Regions from separate parts of the Homo sapiens genome. Here region 1 is linked to region 2. Evidence: promoter capture Hi-C in 16 types of primary human blood cells and fetal thymus (Javierre and others, 2016). All regions are on one chromosome and are shown on one strand. The core of a region is centred on a gene start or on the middle of the fragment in contact, and the rest is flanking DNA. Distances in the headings are between cores, read along the strand shown.

Region 1 (3,408 bases), core at 883-3,382, 630 kb after region 2:
CATGAGCTTAGCTGTGTGAACATGGACAACTCAGTCTCCTGAGTCCTCAGTGCCTTCACCCGTACCAAGGAGATTTGGACAAGCCACCTTTAACGCCATGCCCAGGCTTAGAATCCCATTAGGGCAATGACACGTGTTCTTGCCTGAGAAAATCTGTCTCAAGTTATAGGAAAAATGGAGGAAAACAGAAAAGACATTTTAAAAAATAAGAAGATAAGCAACCAGTAGAGGCAGATGACATCAGATAGGGTATCACCAAAGAAAGCAGAAATATGCTTAAACATTGTATGAGAAGCAAACAAGTGAGGAGTAGAGAAGACAGCAAATGAAAAGTGAGGATGAGTGACACTGAGAGAAGGGTGAGAAGAGCCACACAGAAGGAAGATAACTAGCCCTGCAGGCTGTTTGCTGGCAAGCCTGGCATGGGCATGGCAAAGAGGAGAACAAAGCCAGAGGCTCACTGGACATCTGTCTTCACCTTCATCTCCCCCAGACAAAACAGCAACTAGAGGACTCCTCTCTCAAGAAGTGCAGTCAACCTCCTGGGAAGAATTAAGGCTGCTTAGGAGACAATGACACTCCAGTGGCCCTCCTCATTCAAGAATGCCAAGGCCCCTCTTTGTCTAAAGGCTGACTCCCTACCAGCTTCCCATAGAGTGAAGCCTGACAATCAACATATTCCACCCTCAAACACAGAGCTCAAGTCAGCCTTCCTTTTATAGCAGATACCCAGAAGGAAGACCATCTAAGCAGAGCAAAATGGCAATGCCTACATACATCATCATAACAATTTTGCACAGAGAATATACAGAGTGTTTACCCTCTATGCAATTTTTATGAGAAAATTACTTGAGGATTTACTCCAGAAAAATGACAGCTAAACACAAAGAGTGAAATTCAAAAAAAAATAAAAAAAAAAGAATGAAACTCAACCAAGTGTCCAATAAAAAGAAATTCTAGGATGATATCTGTGTGTGAGGCTGAGAAAGCAATTGGTCCAACTGGAACAGGATGTCAGCACATTCCATGTATGGTATGTCCAAGAAAAAACTTACAGCTTCCAAGCAATGTACAAATGTACAGAATGACAATGATGCTTGTTATTAGTGACATGGTAAAAAGAAAAAAAAGAAAAAAAGAAAAAAAAAAGAGAGAGAGAAAGAAGTGTCCTATCTCAATAACGAATTCACATTTAGAACCTCCAAGAAAAACACTATCTTAAAAAAATCATGGCCCAAATACGAAACAAACTAAAATACTAAAATACTGCGTGATTTTGAATAGTTTATAAATTATAAGAAAATAAAAAGCATTTATCCTTTTGACCTGTATAGTGAGCATAGTGTCTCTTGAGGGTCAAGAGCTTGTGATGCTAGACATAAAGAGAAGAAAACATAACCTTAGCTTGTGGAAATACAATCTTAGAAAATATAATTTTTGGCTGTGAAATGGCAACATGTTATTCTCACGCATAATAATAAAATAGCTTTTAGCTTTAGAATCCATCTACTATACAAGATTTTAAATTGTTATAGAACAAAATGTCAATGTTAACAACTTTGATAATTAAAGAAATGAAAGTTCATAGTCAGAAGATGGGAGGCGGGATAATATGGAAGAGTTAGAAGGAAGGATAAGAATATGGATGGTCTCATCTAACATGGTGAGGAGTCAAGAGACCATCTCTAAAGTTGATTGCACAAAATTTGAGGTTTACAGGTATATTTTTTAAAGAAACACTGAAAAATTAAAATAATGATTACCAAAATTTGGAAGAGAGGGGACAGACGGGTGTTGTGTAAGTAGCTTAAGCTTCTACTCATGGCAGGGAGTCAATAAAAAGTGTTTTAAATTGATCAATCAACACAAAGAAGGAAACAATGGACAGTGGGGTCTGTTAAGGGTGGAGGGTGGGAGGAGTAAGAGGGGCAAAAGAGATCACTGTTAGGTACTGAGCATAATACCTGAGTGATGAAATGATCTGTACAACCAACCCCCGTGACATGAGTTTACCTATGTAACAAACGTTCACATGTACCCTCGAACCTAAATAAAAGTTAAGAAAAAAAGGAAAGAAATTGATGACTCAAGAAACAAATGTCACTATTGGTGAAAGAATACAAAGTTACAGTTGTGTAGGATGAGTAAGTCTAGACATGTCATGTACAGAATGGTGACAATATTGTATTGCGTACTGGGAATTAGCTAATATAGTAGATTTCAATTGCTCTCACCACAAGACAAAAAAGGAACAATGTGAGGTGGTGGATAATCAATTATTTTGACTACAGTAATCACTTTACTATGTATATCAAAACATCATGTTGTACACTTTAAATATATACAATTTTTATGAAAAAAAAGGGAAGAAAAGTAGAAAGAAAAAAATGAGATCCAGTCTGGGAGATAAAGCTGGAAGACACAAGGTATTATAAGCCTTCCAGAAGCTTTACAATGTGTTTAAGTGTTAGTGCTATATAAACCTAGGAGTATGATTTGTAACCATTTATCAATGAGAAATAAAAGTATATATCACAATTGTAAAAAAGAAAGAAGTCATTGAAGAAAGAAATCGCTTACATTATCACACAATCAAGAAACCAGAGGTCATACCATAAATTTCAAACAGATGGAATATAATACAAGGACTTAGTTACAAGGGTGTTTGAAAGGTCAGAAATCGGGAGAGTGAACGTTGCTTTAAATATGTAGGAATTGCAAATGAGTGACCTGCTGGTCAGGATTTGAAAGAAGGAAGAATAGAATGGTGAAGTCAGAGGAGGAGCACTGGGGTAAAATGGTAAGTTCAGTTGGGGGTGTAATTAAATAATCACAAGAGGCAATGAATAATTGTCAATTAAGTGCTAAAAACTAGAGCCAGCGCTTGCCAAGCCCTTGAGCCTTTGGACACATACGTCATTCTGTTTTCTGACATTGTCTTCTCGAAATGAACGGAAAGAGGGAAAAGGAACTGGGTTCTGAAATGGAGACAGTGAGAGTGGGAGGTTAGCTTGAAGCAGTGTAGCAAGCACTGAATCAGTGCACATGGAGAAATTGATCCCATCTGATCCCAGTGGCACTAACATCCCTTTTGGCCCCGGGGCATGTACTTGGTGATGCAGGTGTTTCTGTGGTTCACGGTTTTATTGCCTTTCCTTGGTTCTGTCCCACCTTCTTCAGCAAATTGGAGGGGTAGGTTCTGAAGCTTCCACTTTCGCTGAAACTACAAATCACTCCTACTAAAGTGCTCCACTCCCACCCCCTACAGGGCACACAACAAAGCCTGGTGCCTTGACAGCAAAGTGAAGGAGAGGTGGAACTTCATGGAAATGCCCTGGAGTGAAACCTGTTGGAGACTTCATCCACTGAGTTCAGGATGTTTGTTTGACTTGAGATGTCCCACCATTC
Region 2 (3,449 bases), core at 8-2,507:
TATTTTTAGAGGCAAAAAATATTATTGACAGCCTGTCATGTAAACATTTTCAATAACCATCATAAAACTCTAAATTCCTGGGAAAGAATATTGTTATCAGAGTATATTTACTGCCACAAACACTGCATTTGCTGAGCTAAAGTCAAAACTTAATACAGGGAACAGGAGATGTTCCTTTTTTCCAATGTTACATATATAAAAAGACCAAACCTTTCTGGCTTGCACTCCCTAGGCCAAATTCCTTTAACTGTGTCATTTAATCGGTCCTTCCTTGTGTGGCACTGGCTGTCCACTGTCCCAAGCCCTCGCATGTCCTGGATGGCCGGTCATCATCCACACGGGGGCTGAAAGGCCCGGCTCCAGCACTCCTGTGGTCATCATCCTGCTGAATCGCTTTGAACTACCCTTGGCCTAACCGCGACTCCCATCCCGCTTCCCTCCTGCCTCGCCACTGCAGGCCTGTCCCTTTGCTTTCTTAAAACTGCGCACCGTCTGAGGCCACTTCGAGCCTACTGGATCCCTGGTTCCAACCCAGTAGGATCACAGAAGCAGGGCCAGCTGCCAGGTAGGGGACACCAAGGGCAGAAACCTCCGGGGCCCGCAGCGCACCGGTGACCGCGAACCCGCGTGGCTCCCCTCAGGCTGAGTCGGCTTCCACCCTCCCACCCGAGCCACCGGGGATCAGGGCCCGGGAAACACGCTCGGTCCTTTTCGGCGCTTCCGGGTTTGAAAACCGCGGCTTGCTATGACGTGTGACCAAAATGCGGGGCCAGCTGTCCCAGAGAGAATCCCATCCCGCGCCGGGCCGGGTAGTGGGAGCCACCGGGGTGGGGGGCGGCGCGCCCGGGGTCGCGGGCCGCTCCGCCAGTTCTTGGGCCGACCCCGCCGCCCGGGCGCGCGTGTTTACCTGAAACCAGGAACACGTGCTGCCGGGCGCCAACCCCGTCCCCGCAGTCCACGCCAGCGGCCATGCCGCCCGCCTCTTCCGGGGCGCCGCAGGCTCAGCGCCGCGGGCCTCAGTCTCCCAGCCCCGCCGAAAATGGCGGGAGAAGGGTCTGTTCCGGGTGGCGCGGCGCGCTGAGGGACCGGCAGCGCCCGGGAGGAGGCCCAGGGACCGAATTTCGTTTCGTTTCCGAGACCAGCCTGCTGCTCGTGTTACGTTTTTAAATTTAGCGCCAGGCGAGGGGCTCTGAATGCCGGCCGGTGGCCGCAGGCAACGGGAAGGGGCCGCGGCCTCTCCCTCGCGGCTCCGCTAGTGGTAGGTGCTCATCGCGCGCCGCAGGGCGCCGAGTGACGCGGAGCGGGGCGGGGTCGCCGGGGCCCCGCGCTCTGTGGCTGCACCCAGCGGCCCTCCATGGTCTAGCCAGCGGGCTAGGATTGGGTCTGCGGGGTGTGTGCCCGGACAACGGGTGACGCCCGCCACACCCCCGGGGCCGGGGGACTCACCTGGAGCTAGTCCGTGTTAAGGACAATAGCAGTCACATCGGAATCCGAATGCAACTCTTAGCCATGGTCCTCAATTATTTGTGAATATATATTGGTCATCAGTTGCATTCTGTGTTGCTATTGATGTGAGAATATGTGTGCATTGTGAGCTACAAGGGATGTCCTCAATTTGGACTCCGTCCTCATCACTAAAAGAGGTGCACAGTTTTGGGCTCAGAATATGAATTTGTTGTTTTGGAGAACGCTGTATACTGAGTTAAAAACTTAGACATTTATTTAAAAAGTGATGTTTAAAAAGTTAGAGCCATGAAATTTGGGGATTTAAACTTTTAAAAATAACATTTTAATTGAAAAGTGTTGTTTGGTACATGGTTTTTAAGAAGAAAGTACATATTCCTTTCATACTTTAGAGAAAAGCACGGGCCAGGCGCAGTGGCTCAGGCCTGTAATCCCAGCACTTTGGGAGGCCGAGGCGGGCGGATCGCCTGAGGTCAGGAGCTGGAGACCAGCCTGACCAACAAGGTGAAACTCCGTCTCTACTGAAAATACAAAAATTAGCTGGGTGTGGTGGTGCACATCTGTAATCCCAGCTACTACGGAGGCTGAGGCACAAGAATCACTTGAACCCAGGAGATGGAGGTTGCAGTGAACCGAGATCCCACCACTGCACTCTGGCCTGGGCTACAGAGCTGGACTCTGTCAAAAAAAACAAAAACAAAAAAATCCACAAAAACCTATTTTTTTTTTTTTTAAAGAAAAGCATGATGTATCTCTTTTATCCCAGATCCCAGGGGTAACTGTTAACATTTCTTCTCTATTCTTGCAGAATTTTTCCATGCAAAAACAAGTTAATGTCTTATTTTTGCACAATTGAAAGAATAATATACATAACTCATGCACTTTGCTTTTCATGTTTAATCTTGAAGATAGTTAAATTTAGCAGCACTAAATTTATCTCGGCCCTCTGAAAAGGTTTTTAACTTCAAACCTGTTTCCCATGGGGTGAGACCAATACAGCTGCAGTTGATTGCAGGACACAGCTGGTGGAGAAGAGGCCTTTCTGGCTGAGGAAAGGCGCCTCTTGCCAGTTTTGGGGCAAGGAGCAGCAGATTGGTACTGCTCTGATCTTCCCTCTCCCCCAAAACGACTGTAGAAGATGCTGTGGTGTATAGCACAAATCCCCAGGCACACCATCGTCTTACTAACAGCTACAGGAGCACCCCATTATTCCTGTAGGATGGGATCCAAAACCCCCAGTGAAGGCCTAAAACCGCAAATAGTACCAAACCCTAATATACTGTTTTTTCCTTTGCATGTATATCTGTGATAAAGTTTAATTTGAAAATTAGGCCCAGTAAGAGATGAACAACAATAATAATAAAATAGAACAATTCTCACAGTATGCCAGCATCACTACTCTTGCAGCTACTAAGTGACTCATAAGGAGGGGACCTTCTGCAGTGTGGATCCGCTGGACAAAGGTAGAATTCAGGTCCTTTGCAGGACGAAGCTGGATGGTGCAAGATTTCTTCACACCACTCAGAACACTGTACAATTTAAAACTTACGAATTGTTTCTGGAATTTTTCGTGTAATATTTTTGGACCAAGTTCGACTGGGGGTAACTGACACCTTGGAAAGCGAAACTTCGAATAGGGGGAGCTACTGTACATGAGAAATGTTACCCATGATTCCCTTGCTCAGACATACATACCTGTTTCATTTTTCTCTGATCCTTTCTAGCCCTTGGCTGTATTAATGTATATTTTTGTGGTTGTTGTCACAATTTAGACTGTTTTGTCTGCTTTTCTCACTTAACATTGTCATAAGCATGTGCCCCTTCATATCGAGAAGTATCATTGTTAATGAAGGCATGATATTTAACACAGCTGGTGTACTAGGGTTAGTTATCCATTCCCTAGTGTGCAGTATTTAGGTTATTTCAAACTGTTATTATAAATAATGCTACCATGTGTATTGTATATGGGCTATGTATACAGCAGT

Evidence for each region. The method cuts DNA at HindIII sites, captures the fragments that hold promoters and counts their contacts. A CHiCAGO score of 5 or more calls a contact.
Region 1: a fragment that was not itself captured here is called in contact with the fragment with the promoter of RNASEH2B in region 2 in 1 of 17 cell types (monocytes); the score reaches 5.3 in monocytes.

What each region holds. Positions count from the first base shown.
Region 1 is chr13:50,279,414-50,282,821 of GRCh38, reverse strand. All of the region lies in intron 2 of DLEU1 (deleted in lymphocytic leukemia 1), which reads right to left. Among named protein-coding and RNA genes, the nearest start is that of DLEU2, 160 kb to the right of the region's middle. The HindIII fragment of the contact is 635 bases long and covers 1,815-2,449 here.
Region 2 is chr13:50,907,599-50,911,047 of GRCh38, reverse strand. It overlaps RNASEH2B (ribonuclease H2 subunit B), which reads right to left and starts at 1,257. Exons shown (of 11, transcript NM_024570.4): 1 at 908-1,257. The coding sequence starts at 971. It overlaps RNASEH2B-AS1 (RNASEH2B antisense RNA 1), which reads left to right and starts at 336. Exons shown (of 3, transcript NR_046552.1): 1 at 336-565. RefSeq lists silencers at 503-552, 763-1,002, 1,013-1,442. The HindIII fragment of the contact is 8,311 bases long and covers 1-3,449 here.